Linked DNA regions of Homo sapiens: region 1 is linked to region 2. The links are contacts of gene promoters, found by promoter capture Hi-C in human tissues and cell types (Jung and others, 2019). All regions are on one chromosome and are shown on one strand. Each heading gives the region's core, a stretch centred on a gene start or on the middle of the fragment in contact. The rest is flanking DNA. Distances are from core to core; before and after follow the strand shown. Region 1 overlaps RAB22A (RAB22A, member RAS oncogene family). Region 2 holds the start of NPEPL1 (aminopeptidase like 1).

Evidence for each region. The method cuts DNA at HindIII sites, captures the fragments that hold promoters and counts their contacts. A contact is called where the count stands out against the background at its distance.
Region 1: a contact is called between a fragment that was not itself captured here and the fragment with the promoter of NPEPL1 in region 2, in 1 of the 25 tissues and cell types used here (dorsolateral prefrontal cortex).

The regions. Positions count from the first base shown.
Region 1 is chr20:58,318,019-58,324,444 of GRCh38, forward strand. The region is part of intron 2 of RAB22A (RAB22A, member RAS oncogene family); the gene reads left to right. Among named protein-coding and RNA genes, the nearest start is that of RAB22A, 12 kb to the left of the region's middle. The HindIII fragment of the contact is 9,624 bases long and covers 1-6,426 here.
Region 2 is chr20:58,689,881-58,696,905 of GRCh38, forward strand. NPEPL1 (aminopeptidase like 1) reads left to right here and starts at 2,920. Exons shown (of 12, transcript NM_024663.4): 1 at 2,920-3,170; 2 at 3,857-4,042; 3 at 4,542-4,712. The coding sequence starts at 3,021. STX16-NPEPL1 (STX16-NPEPL1 readthrough (NMD candidate)) reads left to right here. Exons shown (of 23, transcript NR_037945.1): 9 at 1,154-1,347; 10 at 1,525-1,682; 11 at 1,844-1,900; 12 at 3,857-4,042; 13 at 4,542-4,712. RefSeq lists enhancers at 2,353-3,058, 4,499-5,106 and silencers at 2,556-3,045, 3,056-3,215, 3,246-3,325, 3,346-3,435. The HindIII fragment of the contact is 15,721 bases long and covers 1-6,306 here.

The sequences.
Region 1 (6,426 bases), core at 2,077-4,576, 370 kb before region 2:
ACCATGCCTTGCTAATTCTTTTTATTTCTTGTAGAGATGAGGTCTCACTGCATTGCCCAGGCTGGTCTCGAACTCTTCACCTCAAGTGATCCTCCTGCCTTGGCCTCCCAAAGTGCTAGGATTAGGCATGAGCCACAGCATTTTGCCTATTCTTTTGTAAATGTTTAAATCTTTTTAAAATTTTAAAATTATTTGTATCAAAGCAATGTGTATATGGTTTTTAAAACCTGAAATAGTGTTACGAGGCTAAGTGTTGTATAACAGTGCCCTACTCTGAGCCATTCCCTGGAGGCTTACTGTTGCCTTCACATTTAGCTATTCTTTCTAATTTTTTCTCCAAATTTTTTCGTAACATGCATGCACAGGTTGAGTATCCCAAATACAAAATGCTCCAAAATCTAAAACTTTTTGAGCAACAGTATGACACTCACAGGAAATGCCCATTGGAGTATTTTGGATTTTTGGATTTGAAATGCTGAACTGATATAATGCAAATATTCCAAATTCTGAAAAATTCCTAAATCAGAAACCCTTCTTTTTTTTTTTCCAAAATCGGAAACACTTCTGGTCAGCATTTCAGATAAGGGGTACTCAGCATGTACTGGTAGTTGTTGATCCCTCTCTCCTCCCCGCCTCCTGTTTAAGGCAGTATCTACTGATTCTTTTTCTTTGGAAGATGGGAATTTTGCCATCCTCCTCCTCCCACCTCCTTGTGCACATTTGCCCTCCCTCCATCTTTCCATTAAAGTTCTCTCATTGGGAGTCAATGTGCCATAGTGTTCAGAGCCAGGCTGTCTGCCTTCACCTCCCAGCTCTAGCACTTAGTTGCTCTGTGGCATTGGACAAGTTATTTAACTTTTTTGTGCCTACATTTGCACATTTGGGAATCCTCCTTGGCATCTAATCTGTAGGGTTGTTGTGAAATTGAATTCAAACACATAAAAATTGCTTAGAATGGTGTATGTCGTATGGAAAGCATTTGTTATTTCTTAGCAAATGACAAAATTAAATTTTAAAAGGTTATTTTTTAATCTCCCACTATGGTTTTGAACTTTATATAAATGGAATTAGTATACACACACACATACATGTCATTTGTTTCTAGGATGATTAGACTGACATATGGAAAAAAAAAAGATTCTTGACCCTTACCTCACAAAGTAAACGAGTAGAAACAGATCACAGACCAAAATTTAATAAGGCTATAAAAGTTCTAGAACAACATTGGACATATAGGACACACCAAAAAACAAAGCATAAAAAGAAGCTGGAGTTGATCAAAATTAAACATTTTTGTTGAATTCAGCATTTGTTGAATTAAATCACCTTGGCACCTATGAGTTTATATATGTGTATGGGTGTATTTCTGGATTTCCTTTTCTGTCCCATTGGTCTATTCATCTGTCCTCAAGCCAGTACAATATTGTGTTCATTGCTGTAGATGTATAGAAAGTCTTGGAATCAGATAGTGTATGTCATCTAATTCTATTCTTGTTTTTCATGTCTGGCTCCTCTGGGTCTTTTGCATTTCTATATAAATTTTAGAATCACAGTGCCCAGTTCCTCAAAAGAGCCAGGTGAGATCTTGATTGGGAACACATTGAATCTCTTGACCAATTTGGGAAGAATTGTCATCTTAACACTATTCCATTTTTGATCCAGGAACATGATATATTCACCGTTAATGTAGGTCTTTTACCATTCATTCAGTCTTTTACCATTCAATTTGATGGCTGTCTCTAGGTCTTTTATAAATGCCATTATCAGGTTGAAGATGTTCCCTTCTATTCCTGAATTAATGAGATTTTTTGTCATGAATTGTGTTGAATTTTATTAGATGGTATTTTACATATTTTGAGCTGTTCATATTCTTTTTCTTTCTGTTAAAATGGTGCATTACAACCATTGAGAGTTTAATACTGAAATATTAAACCAATCTGGCACTCCTAAGATAAATTTCTCTTGGTCATTATGCATTATTATTTTTTATATATTGCTGGATTTGATTTACTAAAATTTTTTCAAGGATTTTTCTCTCCATGTAGTTTTCTGTAATAGTCTTTCTCTAGTTCTGGTGTCAGGACCTCATCAAATGAGTTGAGGAATGTCTTCTCTTCTACTTTTTTGGAAGAGTTTGTGTAGAATTGGTATTACGTCTTCCTTAAAGTTTTGGTAGAATTCACAGATGAAACCATCTGAGCAGGGAGTTTTCTTTGTCTGAAAATATGTAACTGCAGATTCAATTCCTTTAGTAAATACTGTAAAGGCTTATTCAGGCAACTATTTCTTCTTGAGTAAGTTGGTAGTTGTGTCCTTCAAGGAATTTGTTCATCGTATCTCTGTTTTTTTTAATTTATTGGCATAAAGTTGTTTATAATATCCACTTCTTATCCTTTTAATGTTTTGGGATCTGTAGCAATACCCCCCTTCCATTTTTGATAGTGCTGATTTGAGCCTTCTCACTTCTTTTTCTGAACTGTCCAGCTATAAGTTTATCAATTTTATTCGTCTTCTCAAAGAACCAGTTTTTGTTATCTGAGCATTTAGAACTGTAAATTTCCCTTTAAGTGATGGTTTAGGTGAATTTCATGGATTTTGATATGTTGTGTTTTCATTTTCATTTAGTTGCCCCTGTCATTTCTCTTGTGACTTCTTTGAGCATTGGTGTCTTAGAAATATATTTTCTAATTCCCAATTCTTTGGGTATTTTCCAGAAATTTTTCAAGTATCGATTTCTAGCTTAAATCTATTGCGGGTACAGGTGCGGTGGTTCGCACCTATAATCCTAGCACTTTGGGAGGCCAAAGCGGGTGGATCACTTGAAGTCAGGAGTTCAAGACCAGCCTGGCCAACATGGTGAAACCCTGTCTCTGCTAAAAAATACAAAAATTGGCTGGGCTCAGTGGCTCACGCCTGTAATCCCAGCACTTTGGGAGGCCGAGGCGGGTAGATCATGGGGTCAACAGATCGAGACCATCCTGGCCAACATGGTAAAACCCCGTGTCTACTAAAAATACAAAAATTAGCTGGGCGTGGTGGCACACGCCTGTAATCCCAGCTATTCAGGAGGCCGAGGCAAGAGAATCGCTTGAACCCTGGAGGCGGAGGTTGCAGTGAGCCCGAGACTGCGCCACTGCCCTCCAGCCTGGTGACAGAGCAAGACTCCATCTCAAAAAAAAAAAAAAAAATACAAAAATTAGCTGGGCATGGTGGTAGGCACCTGTAATCTCAGCTACTGGGGAGGCTGAGGCAGGAGAATTGCTTGAACCCAGGAGGTAGAGGTTGTAGTGAGCCGAGATGGCACCACTGCACTCCTGCCTGAATGACAGAGTGAGAACTCCGTGTCAAAAAAAAAAAGTCTATTGTGGTCAGAGAACATACTCAGTATTATTTCAAACCTTTTATATCTGACATTTGTTTCCTAGCCTAAGATGTGGTCTGTCTTTGTGAATGTTCCATGTGCACTAGTAAAGAATGTGCATTCCGCTACTGATGTGTGGAGTATTCTGTAAACGTTAATTAGCTCATTTAATAGCACTGCTCCTATCTCCAGTGTTTTTACTAACTTTTTTCTCTTATTTTGCAGTAAAAGAGTATTTGAAGCAGCTCTAATTAAAGATTTGTCTATTTCTGTTTTTAATCAGGTTTTGCTTCATGTTTCGAAGCTTTCGTTATTGAGTGTATATGCATGTAGCATTGTTTTTATATATTTTTATATAACATACATGTCATGTATTATATATATTATATGTATGAATTATATATCTCTTAAATGTATCTGTGTTATATATACATAAACAGAAACAAGGTCTTGCTCCATCTGTCAGGCTAGAGTGCAGTGGTGCAGTCACAGCTCACTGCAGCCTCAACTTCCCAGACTCAAGTGATCCTCCTACCTCAGCCTCCTGAATAATAGGACCACAGGTGTACTCACCACATCTGGCTAATTTTTTTCATTTTTTGTAGAGCTGGGGTCACTTTGCTGCCCAGGCTGGTCTCAAACCCCTGGGCTCAAGCCATCCTCCTGCTGTGGCTTCACAAAGGGCTGGGATGACAGGCATGAGCCACCTCACCGGGCGTCATTGTTAGATTTTCTTGATGACCCTTTTACAAACGTCATGAAATGTCTCTCTTTTGTCCCTGGTAAGAGTGCCGTTCTGAATTCTACTTGGTCTGATATTAATTTAAGCTCTTTGGCATTCTATTTGATTATCTCTTCCCATGCATTTACATTTAACCTATTTATAGCTGTATTTTTCAAGTGCCTTTCTTGTAGATAGAATTATAGGCTCTGCTTTTATATCTAATCTGACAGTCTCTGCCTTTTAATTATTTAGACCTCCACGGTCTAGTACAGTTGCTACTAGCCACATGTTAAAATTAAAAATTCAAATCTTCAGTCATATTAGCTACATTTCAATCCTCATAACAAATTTCTGTTGTATAGCACTGATTTACATCATTTTTATTTATTATGACTGTCAATATTATTTGGTTTAAAACTACCATCTTGCTTTATTTTTCTCTTGGCCCCATGTTAATGATTCCATTGTATTTCCACTATTATCTTGTTTACCTCTTTGTTTTTATTATTTTAATGATTTGCTAGAATTTATAATATCCTTCTTTGATATATCAGTCTGTGTTCAAATAATAACAGTTTCACATATAAGAACCTCGCAAGAGCGTCCTTCTGTTTCCCTTCTCCCAGGCTTTGTGCTGCTGTGGTCATATTTTACTTCTACATGTTATGAAATCACAACACACTTATTTTTTTTGCATTAAATGACCTTTCAAAGAGACCATTAGTCTTTTTTTCTATCCTTGTGCCATTGTCACGATTTCTAATTTTTTTTCATACTAAGTCTTACTGTCCAGTGGTGTGAATTTTCTGTGTTGTTCTTCAGCAATGTCTTGGCTGTTCTTGACCTGTTTCAATATAAACATTAAAATCATCTTGTCCTTTTTCACTCACACCAACACGCTAATCCCTACTGTGTTTTTGATTGGCCTTGTGTTGAATATATAAATTGATCTGGAGAGAAATGGTATCTTTATAATACTGAATCTTCTAATATATGAACATAGATTACTCTTTCATATATATTAGGATTCTTGAGTTTCTCTCAGTGTTTTTTTTCTACTTCTCTGTGTTATGGACTTGGACATCTTTCCAAGGGGTTTGATATGTTTAGTGCAGTTTTATGCTGTTAATATGGTAAATGGCATTGTTTTGAAATTTTCATTTTCTTTTTATTTGTTGATTATATACAGAAATACGACTTTTAAAAATTGAAGTTATATCCAGTAACCTTGCTGAATTTATTCACTAATTTATAGAGCTTATCTCTATACATTATTTTTTTGTGTTCTCTGTATACTTTTATATCACCTGGGAATTAGTTTTTTTAATCTTTATTCTAATTCTTAAACATTTTACTTATTCTATGAGATCAGGTAGGATCTCTAGTTCAATGTTCAATAGAAATGGTAATACTAGGTATTATCCTAATCTTAGGGGGTAGCTTCTACCATCATACCATTATGTTTGCTATAGGTTTTTTGTACATATTCCTATCACATTACAAACGTGCCCTTTTTTTTTTCTTTTTTTTTCTTTTTTTTTTTCTTTTAAGAGACATGGTGTCACTATGTTGTTCGGGATAGATTTGAACACCTGGGCTCAAGTGATCCTCCTGCCTCAACCTCCAGAGTAGCTGGGAGTACTGTAGATTGACACCACCATGCCCAGCAGAAGCACCTTTATTTTGTTTGCTGGGATCTTTGATTTTTTTTTTAACATAATGTTGACTTTATCAAAATATTTTTCTACATGTATTTGGCTAATCACATAATTATACTCTTTTATGTTAATGTGGTAAATTATATCATTAAATTTTCATGGAATAAATACACTTAGGTCAGGACATGTTATTTTTATTAAATACATATCACTGGCTTTAATTAGTTATTATTTTTTAGAATTTTTATGTATGTTTATAAATGGAGACTATCATATAAATACTTTTTTATAATGTGCATGTCAGATTTGGCATCAGTGCTGTGCTTGCCTGATAAAACTGGTTGAGAAACTTCTGTGGAAGAGACTGTATAAAATTGCTCTTATTCCTTCCTTAAGTGATGAGTAAAATTCATCAGTGTTGCCATCTGGGCTTCAAGTTCTTCTTGTATGATAGTCTGATTAGAGAGTCAGTTTCTTTCACAGTTGTAAGGTTGTTGATACTCAGATTTTCTATTTCTCTTGTATTGGTTTTAATACATTGGGGTTTTTTTTTTTAAGGATTTTGACTCTTTCATATACGTTTTCCAATTTATTGACATAAAGATGTTAAGATTCTATACGGAGACCCCGTTTTCATTTCTGATATTAGTTTTGCCTTTGATCAACTCTATGATATGTCTCTT
Region 2 (7,025 bases), core at 1,670-4,169:
TTCAGAACTGATGTTCAACAAATGTATGTCAAATGAATGAATGAATGAAAATGCTAGAAAATACGAAGCAGATGCACCGAGGAAATGTTTCTTTGAAGTATCGGATATAATGGAATCTGAGAGCCTCGTGGCAATCAGCTGAGTCTAAGCAGGCATTAGGTTTTATAGGGGTGAAGTCTGACATGAAATTAACATATAAATGTAGATTTCAAACACCTAGAGCCATCTTACAAGATAGGATTTCAGAAATGTGTCCTAGAATGTGAACTGTACCAAAAAACATCCTAGTAAGTTCTAGGAGCTTTATTCTGATTTGTCCCAGAAGTTTTTAATCTTTTCTTCAACTTTGGAGCAAAGTCTGAACATCCAATTGAATGTGGAATAGGTTTCAAGCCATCAAAAACATAAGTTGATTTTTGGGTTGCATTAAAGATCTGGTAATTTGTTTTAAACTTTCATTTTTTAAGGAAAATTAAATAGAGTTGAATTTTTCATTGACAGTGAAATATATAGTAAGCCATGGATTAATACCTTCATAAAAATTTATCTAAACAAAGTGCTGCCTGTCTTATTTATGTTAAAGTCTGTAAAGTCAGCAGTGAAAAAGGGAAAGTACTTTCCTGGAATGTATTTGTATCTGTCACAAGCTGAATCTTGAGGAAATTGGCAGGCATTTGAAGTGGAATAATTCCTTAGCGTTCTGTTTAGTTTGGATTTCTTCAATTCGGGGGTGGCTTAAAACCAGAATCACCAATATTTGCTTTTAACAAGCATCTAACGTTTTCTCTTGCTTTGTGTACACTAAGTGCTCAACAAATGTTGGTTGAATTGAATCATTTTGTTCATCCTTTCTGGGGACTGTCAGGGTTATTCAGTCTATTCTTAAATATGAAAGAATTCTAAAAGAAAAACATCTCCAAAATGACCTCTCCACCAACAGTTTATCTCATTTCCAACTCCTTGTACACAAACCTGCTAGATCTGGCTTTCTGAAATGCTTCTTGGATCCCTCTTCAGTTTGCAAAATTCTATAGAGTGAGCCAGGCTCCCCAGTCGATCTCCTCACCCACTCCTATTTTCCAGGAACCTTCTGTTCTAACCACACAGGTTTCAGAGCCTGCTGGACATATTCTGCGTCTGTGTTTCCTCCCAGGACTTCTCCCACGTGGAAGGCCTTCTTTCTCAATCTCTTCGCCTGTGGAAGTCCTATTACATCTGTCAGGGCATGGCCTTAGTCTCTCACCCTCTAGGAAGATCCTCCAGCTGTCTCAGTCCTCTGGAGTGCCGTGTGCCTGTCTGCAACGTATTTGCAAACAGAAAAAAGAGTGAGAGATCTTCATACACACTGTTAGTACCCTTTACCAATGTGTGAAAACATTCAGCTGCTGTAAAATCTTTTGAAGAAAATAAGATCCAATTAGCGTTGACTTTTATGTCGGGAAAGCTGAGGGTTTCAAAGGAATGCCTTTCAGTCATTCAACAGCTTTTTTTTTTTTTTTTTTTTTTTTTTTTTTTTTTTTTGAGTGCCTGCTCTGTGCCAGGAACTGGAGGAAAAAAAAACAACAAAAAGTCAAAAAGACCTGCCTTCAGGATGCTGAAGCTCTAGTCTGTGGTGTTTCCAAGGGGCCAGGGACCATGGCTCAGAGCTGAGCAGACAGACCTGGAGCCTGTGGACAGGGAAGGTGAAAGCCTGGCTTGTGGCTCCCGGGGCTACAAGTTAGGGAGCTAGGGGGCCAGCTGGGAGGTCAGTGGTGGAAAACCTCTCACACCACGCCAGGGAGTTGACAGTGCTTTTTTTTCTTTTTTTCTTTTCTTTTTTTTTTTTTTTTTTTTTCATTTTTAGGCTGGTTATGAAGAAGAAACTCAAAATAACAGGAGTGGCTTATGGAACTACATGGAGGTAACAGAGGAGGGTACCAACCAAAGGCCCTTGAGCAATCAGGATGTTGGGTAACAGATTTTTGCTTTTAAATGACTCCTGGGTGGAGCTTCCCCAATGCATCGTCATTCCCTGACCCTTGCATCTGACCCTGTGGGTGGGACCCTCCGCCTCCACCATCCACTCAAGGCTCACCCCTGGCTCCTCCACCACCCGGCTCCTGCCCCACACCCCCGATGGCCTTTCCTCCCCTGTAAGGCGACTGAGGTGACTCAGGTCACCCTGCTCCTTCCTCGTCTCATCTCGTCCCTCCTTTCCTGCTTAGACTGTGCCAGATGACCCTTCTTGCAAAGGGGTGGGCGGGAAGGCCCCCCATGCAGCCAGGCAGTGCCTGGATTTGTAACTGGCCATCCCAGCAGCAGTGCCCTGGATGGAAAGCCACGTCCCTGTCACCCTCTCACATCCAGGGCAGTGCCTGGCAGAGCGGGGTCTGATAAACGCCAGGGAACCTCCGATTAAGTGAGGAGGAAGTGACCGTCCACGCTGTACCCACCATGCCAGGCAGTGGGACAAAAGGACCTGACTCAGGTCCAAGAGTCACTGGGCCCCTCCGGCCTAACTGATGGGTGGCCAGGGTGCGGGGTCCCTGGGGATCAAAAGCAGCTGCTAAGGGACCTCGGGGGACCTGCTTGGGGCCAGCCTGAGGCCTGACCGGGCGGAACTGCGTCGGGTGGGCTTGGGCCTACGTCGGCCCAGGCCCCACTGGAGGCCAGGCCCGTCCGGGAGGCGCTGCCTGGCGGGCCACGTCGCCCCGCGTGTTGGGCAGGGCCGCTAGGCCCAGGGGCGGCGCCGCTGGAGGCCGGGCGCGCGGGCCCTACTCGGCAGGGCCTGCTCGGGGCCGGCTTCGGGCCTGCCCGGCCGGGCCTGCCCGCACCCTTCCGCCCGGCCTGGCCGGCGCCCCCTCGCGCCCCGGGCGGGCCCTGCACGTCTCGCGAGCAGCCCGGAGCGGCGGGGGAGGCGGGGCCCGCGGGCTGCCGGGCAGGGCCGGGGCGGTGCCGAGGCCGGGCCGGAGCGGGGCGAAGGGGGCCGAGCGGCGGGCCGGGCCGGGCCGGGCAGGGCCGGGGCGTGGGCCGGCAGGAAGATGGCGAACGTGGGGCTGCAGTTCCAGGCGAGCGCGGGGGACTCGGACCCACAGAGCCGGCCCCTGCTGCTGCTCGGGCAGCTGCACCACCTGCACCGCGTGCCCTGGAGCCACGTCCGCGGGAAGCTGCAGCCCCGGGTCACCGAGGAGGTGAGCGGGCCGCCGGCCGCCATGCGACCCGCGCCGCGGAAGCCCAGGCCCGGGCGGCCCGCGGAGGCCCCGCCTCGCCCGCCGCACCCCCGCCGCCGCCGGGCCGGGCCCAACGAGGCCGGGCCGCCTCCCTGAAGGGCTCAGCCGCCAGGCCAGTCCTCGCCCGCGGAGGCCCAGCCCCAGGCCCCGTCGCCGGTGCGGCGCGGTGGTCCTCCTGTCAGCCCAGCCCTGCGCCCCGCGAGGCCGCGACACCTGCGGACGGCGGGGGGGGAGACGTGGCCGCTCCCAGGGCCGCGCGTCGGCCCCGCCTGGCGACAGGCCCTGGCTTCCAGAAGTTCCCATGGCAGTGTCCCCAGCTGCCTTTCCTTGGGGACACCTGGCCCCTGCCCCCTCTCTGGTGGAAGCCGCCTAAGCCCTATCCGAGTGTTGGAAGCAAAGCAGCCCCCAGCCTGGCCCTTCCAGGCTTGGTGGCTTCATCCCACCAGGGGGATGCGAGCCAGCCTAGAGACAGTTAGCTCTGCAGAGAGGCGACACATCTCCCTAAGGATGGGAAAACGGTGGCCGGGAGCTGCGCAGTGCCCTTCCAGGACTGCAGGAGTGGTTGTGGCCGTGGCTGCAGGGCAGGGCCTCCTGGCACGTGGCCGCTGTTTGAAGCCTCTGTGTCTTGTCTCTCCCTTCTGATCTAGCTCTGGCAGGCTGCCCTGAGCACGCTCAACCCCAACCCCACGGACAGCTGTCCCCTCTACCTGAACTACGCCACCGTGGCTGCCCTGCCCTGCAGGGTGAGCCGGCACAACAGCCCCTCGGCCGCCCACTTCATCACGCGGCTGGTGCGGACCTGCCTGCCGCCCGGAGCGCATCGCTGCATTGTGGTGAGTGCTTCGAGAGGAGGCAGCCACGGTGCTCCTAGTCGGGCAGCGGTGAGCTCGGGCCTGGGGAGCTCACAGCCCTGCTCAGACTGCAGCGCACGCCCAGAGGGCTGTGGACGTTATCATCCCTGCTCTGTAGACAGGGAAACAGGTCCAGAGAGACGCGGGGATTTGCCCCAGATCAGTTTTGGTGGCAAATCAGAGACTCAAACCTAGATTTCCTGAGGCCCACTTTGTGTCTGTCCCTCTGTCCCTCATTTTCATGGCTGGTCAGGCTGTTGACATCTGGTGGCCAATGTGTTATTTCTCTTGGAGCATGACCAATGGTGGTCCCATGGTTCCGGGGATGACCTGAGGGATGGGGTGGCGGCTGCTGTGGGACATCTCTGTCTAGATGTCACCTGCCAGGGAGCTGATGTTCCGGAGGCGTTCAAAGAGCAGCTCCCTGCACTCCCTGGTGGCGGCCCTTGCACCCCTCACGCCGTCTCCCTATGTGCCACAGATGGTCTGCGAGCAGCCGGAGGTCTTTGCTTCCGCCTGTGCCCTGGCCCGGGCCTTCCCGCTGTTCACCCACCGCTCAGGTGCCTCTCGGCGCTTGGAGAAGAAGACGGTCACCGTGGAGTTTTTCCTGGTGGGACAAGACAACGGGCCGGTGGAGGTGTCCACATTGCAGGTGGGTGTCTGGAAGGGCAGACACTGCCCCTGGGCCCGGGCAAGATCGGGCAGGTGGGAGGGAGGTCGGGAGAGGGAAAAGCTTGTTGCGGGGGCAGGAGGGGGTTCCTGCCCTTCCCAGGAGCTTTGGTTCCTGGGAAGCGGCAGAGGCTTTTCCAAACCCAGGCCCCCTGCCTCTGCCTCAGCGTGGTCTGTGACTTCAGGATTCTGTTGTATACAGGCAGTGTTTGTTGAGCACGTAATCAGTGCCAGGAACGTCCATGCTGTTTTCCAAATAACCCTGCCCGTTTATGTGAGCTCCGTGTGCACGTGTGTGATGTATGCACGTGTGTGTGTATGTGCGTGCACATGTGTGTTGCTGTGCGTGTATGAGTGTATGTGCATGTGTTGTATGTGTGGGGGGTGTGTGTGTGCATGTGTGATGTGTGTGTGTGTGTGGTATGTGTTGCTGTGTATGTTTGCTGGTGTGTGCATGAGTGGTGTGTGTGGTGTACGTGTGGTATGTGTTGCTGTGTGTGTGTGTTTGCTGGTGTGTGCATGAGTGGTGTGTGTGTGTGGTGTGCATGTGTGGTGTGTGCATGTGTGGTGTGTGTTGTTGTGTGTGAGTACTGGTGTGTGCATGAGCAGCATGTGTTGCTGTGTGTATGAGTGCTGGTGTGTGCATGAGTGGTGTGTGTGTGTGTTGTGTGTGTTGCTGTGTGTGTATGAGTGCTAGTGTGTGCATGAGTGGTGTGTGTGTGGTGTGTGTGCATGTGTGTTGCTGCACCCTTTACAGGGAGCACTTCTACATGTGTTATTTCACTCAATGCTGAGAATGATCCTTTTGAGGCTGCAAGGCCGGAAGTGATTTCCCAGCTCCAGATCCTTGGATGGGCCTGACATCAGGCTCCTGTCCCCACGGCAGCGGTCCCAGCCTCTGCGCCTGCCACCTCCAGTCCCCGAGCCCACAGCGCCACCCAGGTTGTCTTTTCTCATGTGTCAGCGCTCATTCTTCACTTCTGGCTCTGGAAGGCTGTCGCCTTCACCCAGGCAAGCTCTCCCACATCAGCACTTGGGCCACACCTCATTTCTTTCACTGTGTGCTCTCTGAGGCCTGTAACCACTGCCCCTCAACCCAAATTCTTCCATCTTCACCAGCATGAGATAGCTCCCCTTTTTTCCCTTCGTCTCTGAGCTTTTAAAAAAGTCTAACTGGTTTGCCTTGCTTAATCCTCTTTTCCCTCTTAACCCATGGAGACAGAGTTTTTGCCCCCATCCTGACATTGTTTTCTAAGGACTGCTGGATGGGGTGTTGCCGTCCCTCCTTGAAGTGCATCTGCCCCATCCAGAGGTCTCCCTCCCTCCCGCTGCTCCCCAGACTGCTGCCACCTCTCGGCATCCCCTTCATGGCCTCTCCAGCGTTCCGACCTGCTCAGCCCTCTCCGGGTCAGACACCAGCATCTGCCTCTTCTCTCTGTCTTTAGGGATTTTCTTCTGACTTCCAGGCCTGCCATCCAGGTGGGCACGGGTGCCCGCAGAGCCCACCGGGGGCTCAAGCATCACCCTTATTTCCGAGGACAGCAGGGCACCCTGACCTCTGCTGCCCTCAGTCCCTTCCCCTCCTGTGGACTTCCTGCTGTCCCTTAGACTGGCCACGCCCACTCCTGCTCTTGCTCCTCTGCAGGGGTCCTTCCCTCTCCAGCCCAGCATGGTCTCCATCCAGCCTCTGCCCACATTCCCTCCCCAGGGAGGCCTGGCCCTCTTGGCTAGCACCACCCTCCCATTTGTCAGCTAAACCATCACTACTAGACATGTCACATCTTTGTTGATCTCCTGTGCTCCTCACTGGGTTGGGAGTCCCCAGAGGGCAGGGACCTGGTCTTGTGCACAGTGATCCCAGCACCCGACCCCACACATGAAAAAGGCCCAGTAAACATCTGGTGATGGAACCAGTGGGGGCAGTCAGTCCCCATGGCCCCCGACCCCATTGGTCCCAACTAGCTAGTGTGTCCTGTTTCTTGTCTTTGCTCTGCCCAGTGCCGTGCCTTGAGGTGCTCTCCTGGGCTGTGGCAGCAGTCTCCTGGTCACCCTGCCACAGATGGCCTCCTTCCAGCTCCTGCGTCACTCGCCTTCCAAAGGCACATCTGGGTGTGTGCAAGGTGGCATCTTCTGAGTGCTGTCAGCTGTCAGGCCCTGCGCTGAGGCAGGAGTGTGCACACAGCACGTGCTGGTGCACTGAATTCTCACTACAGCCCTGTGAGATACATCCTGTTGTCCCCACGACATTGAGTGGCTCACCGGGGCCACGGCAGCAAGGGGCAGAGCCAGGTGTTAA